Regions from separate parts of the Homo sapiens genome. Here region 2 is linked to region 1. The links are contacts of gene promoters, found by promoter capture Hi-C in human tissues and cell types (Jung and others, 2019). All regions are on one chromosome and are shown on one strand. The core of a region is centred on a gene start or on the middle of the fragment in contact, and the rest is flanking DNA. Distances in the headings are between cores, read along the strand shown. Region 1 holds the start of CHRNA9 (cholinergic receptor nicotinic alpha 9 subunit). Region 2 overlaps RBM47 (RNA binding motif protein 47).

Evidence for each region. Contacts are between HindIII fragments. The study calls those that stand out against the background at their distance.
Region 2: a fragment that was not itself captured here is called in contact with the fragment with the promoter of CHRNA9 in region 1 in 1 of the 25 tissues and cell types used here (IMR-90 fibroblasts).

Annotation. Positions count from the first base shown.
Region 1 is chr4:40,330,439-40,337,127 of GRCh38, reverse strand. It overlaps CHRNA9 (cholinergic receptor nicotinic alpha 9 subunit), which reads right to left and starts at 1,795. Exons shown (of 5, transcript NM_017581.4): 1 at 1,597-1,795; 2 at 1,156-1,301. The coding sequence starts at 1,660. The HindIII fragment of the contact is 10,503 bases long and covers 1,211-6,689 here.
Region 2 is chr4:40,483,748-40,490,308 of GRCh38, reverse strand. The region is part of intron 2 of RBM47 (RNA binding motif protein 47); the gene reads left to right. Among named protein-coding and RNA genes, the nearest start is that of MIR4802, 15 kb to the left of the region's middle. The HindIII fragment of the contact is 5,027 bases long and covers 1,694-6,561 here.

The DNA.
Region 1 (6,689 bases), core at 546-3,045:
GGAATTTCACAAACACTCATCAAATTTCAATAAGTAAAGTGAGAGCTTTATTCTTTATTTATTCTATCCCCTTGATTGACTGCCAAGATCATATTTTTTTTCCTCCTAGATTTAGTGTTCAGAATGTAAAGTGGACAAATATTTTAGTATTGATATCTTTGCATAGATCAACTGCCTATATTTCCTGAAAATTGATCAATGAATGATGTACTTGAAAGCAAAAGTCAGGAAATAACAATGTGCAGAAGGAAAATCTTTCAAGTTTCATAACATTGTGTAATTAAACATAGATAAGCACTAATAAGCTATGCCATCTTAAAACACTACCTTTTTTAAAAAATTGAGATTGGCCGGGCGCGGTGGCTCATGCCTGTAATCCCAGCACTTTGGGAGGCCGAGGCGGGCGAATCATGAGGTCAGGAGATTGAGACCATCCTGACTAACACGGTAAAACCCTGTCTCTACTAAAAATACAAAAAAAAAATTAGCCGGGTGTGGTGGCGGGTGCCTGTAGTCTCAGCTACTCAGGAGGCTGAGGCAGGAGAATGGTGTGAACCCAGGAGGCAGAGCTTACAGTGAGCGGAGATCATGCCACTGCACTCCAGCCTGGGTGACAGCAAGACTCCGTCTCAAAAAAAAAATTAAGATCAAATTCACATTAAAACTCACCATTTTAATCATTTTCGAAGGGAACAATGCACCGGCTTCCAATATATTCACAACGTTGTGCAACCATCACCACTGCCTAATTCAAGATCATTTCTTCCCCCCGCAAAGAAACGCCGTAATCATTAAGAACTCACTGGCCGTTTTCCCCGTCCTCCCCACAGACCCCGGCAACCTCTATGCCGTTTTCTGTCTCTACGGATTTACCTCTTTTGGACATTTTATATAAATGGCTGCATACAGTATGTAACCCCATCTTTCTTTAGATTATCTAAGACTGTTACAGTTAATGACCAGGATTAGGTAACGTTTCTTGAAATTAATTAGTTTTGTAGAAAGCTTCCTTTTCCCGACATTCTCTTCTCCCACCAGCTTGCTTAAGGAGCTATCATTCCCTCTCAAATTCCCAGTTAAGACATTCTCTTCAGAAAGCATGGTTGTTTATCCTCTAAGAATCATTCCACAGAGTCAGCACCATGTGTTACTCACCATATCCTTAATCTGAGAGAGCGTAATCTGCAGGGTCACATTCAGGACTTTATCTGTATCTTCCACTGGACGAAGAGCATTAGAATAATCTTCAAAAAGGTCATTAAACAACTTCTGAGCATATTTTCCATCTGCCGTCTCTGCAGCTACTCAACAAGAGGGATCTGGATTAACATTCAGAGTGTTGTGTGTATTTCAAGACAAACAACACAAGACTGAGGTCTAAAATGGGGGATGGCCCAACACTGGCGAGGGACAAGCTTTGGGTGGATGGATGAGTTGTTTTTCTGGCATGCCCTACCAAGATCAGAGTCAGTAGGAAGCACAGAACACTTCCATGCGGTTGAATCATCTGTTTTGTCTTCCCTGTCCTGCCCCACCTCCCACCAAAGCAATAGCCCCAGATGAGACAAGATAGGTTACGTGTCACCAGCCTCTCACCTCTCAGTCTGGAAGCAGCAAAGTAGATCCAGCAAAAGGAGATGCAGGAATGGGACCAGTTCATCTTTTTCCTGAGCCTCTATAATAAAGTCTCAGTCAGGCAGCGTGGTCTTCCACTTCCCCCTATGAATACAAAGGATCTGGGCACAAGGAGCCCACACCGCTGCAGCCTTATGGCGGGAGAGCTCAGGCTTGCATTGCATGCAGGACCGAGATCCTGAGATCCAGGCCTGCCCTCCCTCCCCTCCGGTAATTTGAGACTGGCAGCTCCAGTGGCTGAGAAGCCGGGAACCCAGGGTGTGTTAGGTCCAACAGTGCTGTTGTGGGGGGCCATCTCAGTTGAGGGTCCCTAGCCACCCTCAGCAGAAACAACCAGACAGAAAAGGAGGTAGATGCAGGCAACAGGGGTATGCCTGACACCCCAGAGACTCCATCTAAGCAGAATGGGAGATTTCTACACCCACCATGAGCAGAGTCAGCCTGAGTCCAGGGACTAAGGGAAGCCTAAAAGACTGAGCCATGGGACGGCTGTCCAGAAAGACTCTACGTGCTTTTAGCAGCATTTGAAGAGGGAAAGAGACACGGTTCTATGATCTCCAGAATATATTGGCATTTTGGTTTTTTCTCTGCCTCAGCTTCTGATCCCTCCTGCAGCTGTCCCACTGGGCATGGATCTTGCATAGTAAATGTTTGTGAGTATATATGTGAGGGGGTGTGCTGGATGGGCGGATAATCACTCGCTTAAGAAGCAGCAACACTGTGAGTTGGATTTGGACTTGACCACCTGGGTTTGACTGCCAGCCAAACCCTGACGAGCTCTATTATTCTGTAAAAGTCACCTAACCTCTCTGAGCCTTCCAGAACTACAGACTGGGGAAAATAATATTTTCTCTCTCTAGAGCTACTGAGATAACTGTATGTGAAAGCACTTTCTAAATATCAGTAATTATCATCTTTGATCAGCTTTGCATACCCAGAATTTCTATACTCACCAAGTCACCCAGGATTTACCAGCTCGAAAAAAAAAAAGAAAAACTGGTTCAAAGGCTGACCAAATCAGCATGAGAATAATAACCAATGGTGATATTGCTAATGATGACACCCTTTGCATTTGAATGCTACTTCATATAAAGTTTCAGTCATTTCTCATATGTGATATAATTTTACTCCTATAAAAAAATGTCAATTTTCAATTGCTGCTTAGTCTGGAAACTCATGTCTGTCTCTCCTCTTGCCTGGGGAAACTGCTTTGGAAAACCATATTAAGATAATTTGGTTGCCTGGAATTGGAGCGAGGAAATTGGATAGCTCTGTTTCATCAGGTTACAGCCGCCTGATGAGTCACCCCATCCCTCTTCGGGAATGTATCCTCTGAGTGGAACAGACACTCAAGCCATCGGCAAAGTGTTTCTTAATTGCCTATCCCATTGTGTTGATTGTGAAGACATTATTTTTCTGACGCCCCTAGTCTGACTCATTCATCAAATGACACAATTCCGGGTGCCCACGCTCAGTCCTCCTTCAGCAAACCATCCGCTCCAGAATCTCAGAGGCAGAAGGTAATTTTGAAATTGAGTTTAATGCCTCACTTCTATATGAGGAAACTGAGGCCCAGGGATGCAGAGTGGCTTCCCTCCAGCAGTGATCGGCCAGAGACAGGATCCAGGCCACCTGCCCCAATCCACTGTGCTCCCTGCAACACTAACAATGCATCTCTTCCTTCTCGTTGTCTTTCATCAATATGGCTTTTGATGCCAGCTGGGTGGTGACTTCCTTGTGTGTAGAGGATCTTTACCTCATATGTCTTGGATTCCTTACAGCACTCACAGGGTTGAATTGTAGTTGACACAGGGCCTACCTTGAATGGTGTCCCTTCCCTTCCTATACCACTCCCCTCCCTTCAGGGTCCCTTCTCCCCTCAGGGGCCTCTTTTAGGTTGAAGCTGCTGAGAACCTTTGCCCATTGGGGTCCAGTGTCCTGGGGGGCATCCCTGACTCCATTCCAGGAGGATGATGGCAGTGCTCCCATTCCTTAGAATAGAGTCCTGTCTGACAAAGAATCCTAGTGAATTCTATGGCTAAAATATCCTCTGCCCAGCAGCAGAGTGGGGATGGGAAGAACAAATACCTTCATTCTGCTACATGTGTTTTTTAAAACAAAAATTACAAGAGTCAAACATCATGTTTTGCAAAGGATTTTTTCCCTGCAAATGAATATGGCATGAATATTTTCTCCATTTCATTAAGTACAGGATCAGAGCACTTCTAACCTGTAAAGAGCTCTTTGAGGACCATCTAGCTAAGGTCACTCATGTTACAGATAAAGAAACTGAGGACTAGAGAGGTCAGAAGCCTTCGCAAGGACATAACCCATCGTCCTGACTCAATACAGTGCTCCTTACACAACACCAGTTCATCTGGTGAGGAAGCTCAGAGGAAATCAAGGTCAAGTGTGCCTTTAGGAGGCTTGGGAATGCACTTCCTTTCAGCCAAGGGCAGGTGGGACTTCGATCTGCCCCACAGGAAGGTGGGTAAAGGATGCTGACTCTCCACCAAGAACCATGCCAGAGACCCTCAACCTCCCCAGGAGGCTGGGCTCTTCACAGAGGAGTGCTGTCCTAGGCACTCAGAGCCATGACGCATGCTAACCAATGCTTCACAACTCACTGAAATGGCAGGAGATACCTCAATGGGATGCCATCCCCAAGGACCTATTTCACTTCTACTTTCTAAATTTGCTGGATTTATCCTAGATATGTGTCTTGAAAAACAAACAAACAAAACAAACAAACAAAAAAACCCCCTCAAAGCTCCTTTAAAAGACAGCTACATGAATTCCTTCACCTTGCACCAGAGTTTAGGATAAGATTGGTAGTTAGGACGCAAAGTCATGCCAAAAGGGCTGCCCATGGCACCACTCTCCAAACATTTTAGGGTTTACTTCTGTCTTTGTTTTCTATTTCTTCTTCTTTTTTTTTTTTTTTTGAGATTGAGTCTTGCTCTGTTGCCCAGGCTGGAATGCAGTGGCGTGATCTCAGCTCACTGCAACCTCCACGTCCTGGGTTCAAGCAATTCTGTGCCTCAGCCTCCCAAGTAGCTGGTATTACAGGCACCTGCCATCACGCCCGGCTTTTTTTTTTTTTTTTTTTTTTTTTTTTTTGTATTTTTAGTAGAGATGGGGTTTCACCATCTTGGCCAGGCTGGTCTTGAACTCCTGACCTCGTGATTCACCTGCCTCAGCCTTCCAAAGTGCTGGGATTACAGGTGAGTCACCATGCCCAGCCACTTCGTATTCTTGATCAAAAGCAGTATAATGTAGAGTTTAAGAGCACAGACCCTGGAGTTGAACTGCTTGGATTCAAGTCCAACCCCACCACTTACTAGCTGTGTAAGCTCAGCCAGATTATTCGACCTCAGTTTCTTCATCTATAAAATGGGGACAATTATAAATAGTGCCTACCTCTTGGGGTTGTTTTGAGGACTGAATCAGTTAATGCATGTGGAACCCTAAAAATAGTGCTTGACCATAAAATTGCTGGATAAATGATCATTAAAGGGGAAAATGACATGCTAAGCATGTCATTTGTAGCTCAATGCCACTATTTGTTTATTTATATATTTATTTATTTAATTTATTTATTTTTCCTCCCCTCTTCCTCTCCCCCTTCCATCTCTCTCCCTCACCCAATCTCTCTCCCAACTTCTTGACAGACCTGGTTAGAGGATAATTGTTTTATGTGACAAGCAATTTGTACTGTGGGTGGAAGAATATCAGTCCTACTATTTTCTTGTTGTCCTTTTTTATTGTGATGTTAATATTATTGTCAGTCCACCGTGGATTTATTTATTTACTTACTTATTTCTGCAGTAGTCTTTTTAATCCTCTTATCCATTTTGTGAGAGTTACACAATCTAACTCCGTCACAGAGATTGGCAAACTCTCTGCAAAGAGCTAGATAGTAAATATTTTCATCTTGGCAGGCCATATGGTCTCTGTACCAACTACTCTTCTCTGCCATTGTACTATGAAAGCAGCCTATAGCAAAATGAATGTGTGGCTATGTTCCAATAAAACTTTATTTACGAAAATAGGTGGCAGGGCATAGTTTGTTGACCCCTGACATAGATAAACAGATCCATAAATCCACTTTGCTCATGAAAATTGCAATAGGAAACAGCGTTCCAGATGAAGAAGGGGCAAAGCCTGCAGGGAAAAGAGCTTGACATGCGCAGACGCATGGCAGGGCCAGGGCTGACTCCCACTGCAGCTCAGCCAGTGAGACTCAAACTGCCTTCCAGCGGAGGCTCTGGGCATGGAAGAACCCTTTCTAATAAGGAATCAGAAATGTAAGAGAACTGGAAAGAGTAGGAAGCAACCCTGTTGGATGTCTGGAGGCTGGGCAAGCCTCCTCACTTCCACAGGGTGACCGTGATAGTGTCGTGGATGAGGAATTAGAGTTTCCAGATATAGGTGATGGTGGGAACTGTGGCTACAGCCAGGCCAGGGGCTGGCAGGGTGAGCAGCAGGGGAATGGGTCAGAAGTTCAAGTGAGTCTCTCTGGGGTCCCCATGAATAAGGACAGGACTGGAGGGCAGAACTCTGGCAGTTTCACTGAGAAGTACAGAGTCCCAGAACACAGTTTTGTTTCTAGATTGCTAGAAATCCTAGCAACTCCCTTCCCCAGCTGTACTCAAATCCATTGGCCTGGGGAAGTGCAGGTTAGATCAGAACAAAAGCGATTCAGGAAGGGGAGGAAGGAGGACCTCTGGGCCAACAGGAACGTCGGACCGGAGCTCATTATGGTGTGGGCACCTGAAGGTGATCACACTGGGCATGGAGCCGATTCTCCTTTTGTGACTGCATGTGCCTGTGTCTCACTCTTGTCCCACTGTACTCTGGCTCTGTCAGTGGTGTGTAGTGGACTGGAAAACTCTTCTGAGTGAAACCCAGCGGGACAATCTCTCTTGGTGCTTCTGGGCATCGTGAAGGAAATGAACTTTCCTAACCTAACTTCAAACAGATCCAACTCCTGCGCATCATCCTCGCTTCTTCTCTCTCAAACCCCATGTATTAGTCTACTTGGACTCCCACAA
Region 2 (6,561 bases), core at 2,958-5,457, 150 kb before region 1:
TCTTTTTTTTTCTTTTTCCTTTTTTTCTATTTATCCTGGCTAGAAACAAGTACAATGTTGCATATAGAAGTTGAGAGAGTGCAAATCCTTGTTGCTGTTCTTCATGGGGAGAGCATTCAGTCTTTTTCACATTAAGTGTATTAGTCATGGGTTTTTTGTAGATGTTATTTATCAGATTGAAGAAGTTCCCTTCTGCTTTAATATGTTGTGTTTTAGTTATGAAGGGTTGGTGCATTGTATCAAATGCTTTTCTGGCAGCTATTCAGATTACTGTGTATAGTTTTTGTCTTTTGTTGATATGGTGTATTGCACTGATTGATTTTCATCTGTTAAGCTATCTTGCATTTCTGGGTTAAATCAGACTTGGTCATGTTGCTGAATTCAGTTTATTAGTATTTAGTTGTGTATTTTTAAAAAGTCCATATGCATAAGACATATTGATTTGTCATTTTCTGATAACTTTGTCTGTATTTTCTATGCATGTAATACTGGCCTCAGTGGGAAGTGTTCTAGTCCCTTCTGTTTTTTGGAAGAATTTGTGAAGGATTGGTGGTAATTAGACTTTAAAACATTTGATAGAATCCTCCAGAGAAGTCATCTGTTCTTGGGCTTTTCTTTGTGGAAAATTTTTATGTTACAAATTCAGTGTATTTACTTATAAGTCTATTCAGATATTCTATTTCTTCTTGAGTCTATTTTGGCCCTTTGCATCTTTCTAGGAATTTCTCCTCTACATGTAGGTTATCTAATTTGCTGGCATATAATTGTTCATAGTATTTCTTTGCTATCCTTTTTATTTCTAGAAGGTCAGTAGTGTTGTCACTTCTCTTATCCCTGAGTTTAGTAAGTTGAGTCTTTTCATTTCTTTGTCATTCTAGCTAGTGGTTTGTCAATGTTGTTGCTCTTTTCAAAGAACCAACTTTTGGTTTTATTAACTTTTATTTTGTTTTTATAGTCCGTATTTGCTTTATTCCCACCTAAATCATTATTATTTCCTTCCTTAATCTGTTTCAGATTTATTTTGCCCTTCTTTTTTCTGGCTTCTTAAACTGAAAGCTTAGATTGTTTACTGTATTTTAACTGTTATCTCCATTCCCCCAAGCTCCATTTTACAGGACAGTTTGTGAGTATGAGTGACCAATGCTGAAACAGTCAGGGCATGCAAACTTTCTCCTTTGGGGACAGAGTTACAGGGCAACTGAATACATGAGGGGGGCATACAGAGTACAGTTGACACAGCTGTTTCATTATGGTGCAGTCCATATAGCATTGTGATTCTGGGGCAAAAACTTGGGCTCTGGGGTTTGGGAACCTGGATATGAGTTCTACATCTGCCACCTAATAGTTGTGAGACTTTGAACACTTATTTAATCTTTGTAAGCCTCAGTCTCCACATCTGCAAAATAGCAGAAAGATAATTAGTACCTCATAGGATTGTCGTGAGGATTAAATGAAATAGCATATGTGAAGCACCCAGAACTGGTGGTAACAACTGTTCAATAAAGATTAACTATTCTAATCTGGTTGTTGTTGTTAGGTCAGATGGGCCTTTGCTGAGTCAACTCCATGTAAAGTAGCTACAGAGCTTGTTGTTGTGTTTCCATTAGTTTGTACCTCTTTGCCAACCATCTATGAACTCTCCTGTATGTACTACCAGGGTGGACCTCACCTGCATTTGCTACCAGGTGCTGAGATACACTTCTCACTTGCGGTTGCAAAGCTCAGGATGTTATTTCCAAATGAGCTCTTTTCTCAGACCAATTGCCGGCCTTGCTTATTTGATCATCCACCCATATTACAATGATGATATGAGAACAAATGAAGGTATGAGAAGAAAATATTTTCCTAAACAAATTTGAGGCATGCTTGGGGTGGAAGTACCATAAATTATGAAAATGGTGCGCACTGAAAAGTTCTAATTTTCATTTTATAGCGTCTCAAGTTCTCCCCCTTCCCCCCCACCCTTTTTTTTTTCTTTTGAGACAGAGTCTCGCTCTGTCACCTAGGCTGGAGTGCAGTTGTACAATCTCGGCTCACTGCAACCTCTGCTCACTGCAGCCTCTGCCTCCCGGGTTCAAGTGATTCTTGTGCCTCAGCCTCCTGAGTAGTGGCGATTACAGGTGCGCACCACTACACTGGCTAATTTTGTAGTAGAGGCTGGGTTTCACCATGTTGGCCAGGCTGGTCTTGAACTCCTGATCTCAGGTGATCCACCTGCCTTGGCCTCCCAGAGTGCTGGGATTACAGGTGTGAGCCACCGTGCCCAGCCTCTCTCTCTCTTTCTTTCTTTCCCTCACCCCTAACTCTTATTAATCCCTTTCATCAAAAGCTTCACTAAAGAACAGAAAGGATGTGCGTTCCGTTTTTTTCCCTCCTCTGGCCCTGTAGGTGCAGAGAAATTACAAAATACTAGGCTATACATAGGGGAAAAGTAAGAAAAATTCATTAGCATATAAATTGATAACCAGCTTTCTTTGGTCTATCCATCAACATGAATTTTATCCAAGTAGATTTATTTTTTTGGAAGACTAAATTTAGTGTGAATAATCAATAATATATTAATAACAATTAAATTTGATTTATCTCTTCATACTTGGGGCTTGCCATTCTTATTCTTTGTGTAGCTATGCTTACGAAGTGTTATGCCAGGACGTGAAAGGTGAGCACAGAGGGGTGCCTAGTTGACTGTCTGGTTTTTGATAAAAAAAGAAATGATGAGGCCAAGCATGGGGGCTGACGCCTGTTATCCCAACAATTTGGGAGGCCAAGGTGGGTGGATCACTTGAGGTCAGGAGTTCAAGACCAGCCTGACTAACCAGGTGAAACCCTGTCTCTACTAAAAAATACAAAAATTAGCTGGGCATGGTTGTGCACACCTGTAGACCCAGCTACTCAGGAGGCAGGAAAATCACTTGAACCTGGGAGGTGGAGTTTGCAGTGAGCCGAGATCGCGCCACTGCACTCCAGCCTGGGCGACCGAGTGAGACTCCATCTTTAAAAAAAGAAAAGAAAAGAAATGATGATGTAGAGCTGAAATTACCAACATCATCAGATGGAGGAGTCCTTGAGGAAATCTGAGTTCCCAAGATGCCAATTCCTTTGGGGTCTTTTTTGTTGCTTTCGGTTCCATCTGCCAATCCCCATGAAGGCTCCACTGAGTCTAAAAGAGCTAACAGATGACCCTTGACCATCCTAAGGTTGCTCATTGTGTCTGTCCCTCTTGGGGGAGCACAGAGAATAATTTTTTGTGGCTACTGAAATCTTAGGACTCTTCCAGTTTAAGTAAGTCTTAAAGAAATACTGGCCTTGACTTTAGGATCCAAAATAAACCTGAATCCTTGTGAGTGTCTAGACAACAACTATAGAAAACAGCAACAATCAGAGATCACCTGACAGTTAAGAACTGGCTAAAAATGTTTGCACATTACCAAGATCAAGCAACATATAAATTACCCAGAGACATAGAATGAATGTTGCATAAATGCCTTTGTTATTAAACAGGATGTGTGCTCTGTTGAATCATAGTTACATGGGGGAAGTCCTCCTGCCTGAACTTCTAAATTTATGGGAATCACAGTCAAGGTTGCTCAATCCATGTGCCCTCTACCCAACCCTCACCCCATTTCCTCTAAAGATCCTCTACTGGGGGTAAGATTTTACAACTTCCATTTAAATCTGTGATGGGGTTTCACCATATTGACCAGTCTGGTCTCGAACTCCTGACCTCAAGTCATCACCCACTTTGGCCTCCTAAAGTACTGGGATTACAGGCATGAGCCACCACACCCAGCCCAAATTTAAAAATTTTTGCTGATATAGTAGGACTCACTGTTTCGATTTCTATCTATTTTAATCAGACAAAGTTTGATTTGAATAGAGTTGAACTATTTTCATGTTTATTCATCATAGAATCTTGTTTTTCTGCAAACTGCCTGCTGATATCTTTGCTCGTATGTATTGTGTTGTATTTTTTTGTTGATACGGAAGCACTCTGGCATATTAAGGAAATTGGCTCTTTAATGACACACTCCTAATTGTAGTTTGTCTTTGATTTTGTTTTAATAAATGTTTTAAAATTCCATTTAATGCTCAGTTCTTGGAAAAAGGAAGAGTGATTGGGACCAATGTTTAGTTCAATTTGAAATTCAGATAAATAATCAGTTTCTTCCTTAGCTACTGTATTTAGTTTCTAAACTCTTCACACTAAGCTCTTTTTTTTTTTTTTTTTTTTTTTTTTTTGAAACAGGGTTTTGCTCTGTTGTCCAAGCTAGAATGCAGTGGTCCAAATATGGCTCACTACAGTTGGAGCTTCCGGGCTCAAGCAGTTCTCCCACCTCACACCCCCAAGTAGTTGGGACTACAGGCGCATGCCACCATGCCTAGCTAATGTTTGTATTTTTTTTTTTTTTTTTACACAGATGGCCTTTTGCCATGTTGCCCAGGCTGGTCTCAAACTCCTGGACTCAAGCAATCCGCCCACCTCAGCCTCCCAAAATGCTAGGATTACATGAGTGAGCCACCCTACCCGGCCTATTTTCTCTTTATAACAGTATATTCTCATATTAATGTGTTGTCCCAATTTTTAAAATTGTCTATTTGAGTAATTATCCAGAATCATGACTGACACTACCATTTTCATTAATACTTTAGATCAAAGTAATTCTCACTTAATTCTTATAGTAATTTCACCTGACACTTGGGGACTGGTAATTTTAGCATTGGTGTTTCTAAAAACATACTGTGATAAGCTGCTCCATCACCATGTATTTGGTTTCTTTGTCTATAAAACTAAAGCCAGAGAAATGAGGTGCTTGACAAAGCATTGAGGTGTCAAGGGGCACATACAGATTTCAAATTGGAATCCTGGAACAAACATGGTAGGAGAACAGAAGAGGGTCCCATCTGCATATTCTTACTGCTTAGATAAAGCAGCTGTCGACTTGGCTTTCCTTTATCCTGACTTTCCAGAGTTGTTCACCAAACAGGTAACAAGATTGAGCTTTAAGTCTTTATTTCATATTGATTCTTCATAAATTAAATTATCTTATGACTTATGGCTCCATGTTGTAAGTAAAAAGTCATTTGACCAACTGTTTGGAATTCTTGTCAATAACAATTATTGAGCACCCATGTTAGTGAATTTCTGTGTGTGTGCACTGGGTGGTGAGAAAAGGTTGAGAGCAAATACCTTGGGTATACTTTGTAAGGAACCATGATCAGCTTGTCATGCAAACATATGACAACTGTGCAAACATTTTTTACAAGAGACAGTCTTAACAAAAACAAAAAAGAAAAAGAAAACAAACAAAAAAAAAGAGACAATCTTAAACTTTGTGTATAAGCTTTAATTTTCAAATGTAGAATCAGAAGCATTGCTGTTTAGGCAATGTTGTGATGAAACAGGAATCAAATTTGATCCCAAATGACAAATACACAATTGCCAAATATCTAGAAAAGAAGAAATGCTGAAGTGGTGTGGCAGTGAGTAAAGTTGTGTTGAGAAAGATAGATACCTGGATAAAAAAAATCCTTTTGGAGGAAGGTGATTCTAGAAGAGAGTTACAAAGGAAAATAAGAATCTGGTAGATAGAGAAGGAAGGAAGGTAGTCTTGGAGATTTTGTGTGTAGCTGTGTATCTGTTGAGGTTGAAGGGAACAAAGGGAAATTATGCAGTGATTTGTCATCATAAGTTAACCAGAGATTTGCAGCTCATGATCAAAAGCCTGCAATGTTATGGATGACCAAGGATCACCTCAAATTCCCTTCATGGGAGTAACATGATCCCAACCATACCTAAGGAAAATGGTTCATCCTACTGCTTTCAGGATGGTTAGCAGGGAAAGGTGTCAGCTAGGAAACCCAATGGGTGGGGGTGGGAGGTTGTGCATGGTTAGTGCTGAACTAAATCAGGAAGAAAGGAAAAGAAAGGAATTGGCAGAATGTAATGATGGGTCGAAATGGAGAGAATGAGGGACAGAACAAATAGGTTCGTTTTATCAAATCATTAAAATTTTGCTGATCAAAGTCATATATGTTACAGATATTTAACATACATGTGTTACATATGTATTTTAATCACCCATATTCATATTCTTACTCTCCAGAGACGACCACTGTCAATATTTTGTTATATTTTTCTACATTTGATTACTATAATATCAGTAGAAATTGTACCCTACATAAAGTTTTCTCTACTCTCTTTTTTCTTAAGCTCACATATTGTGAACCTTTACTCATGACATTAAATTCTTCATAAATGTAATTTTTAGTGGCTGGTGTGTCACCATTTATTTAACCATTCCTATAAGGATTGTTTCTCAATGTATTATAAAGAATTCTGAGATAAATATCTTTGGATGTAAACATGCTTTTTTTCTTATTTCTTAAGGATAGATTTATAATAACATCATTGCTAAGTAAAAAGAATAAACATTTCCAGGCTCTTCAAATACACTATGCAATTTCTTTTTTAGAAGGGTTTTGATGCTTTCATACTTGTTTTACTGAAGTGTGACACTTAATCACTATTAAGTATTTTAGCTAATTTTATTGGTTGATTAA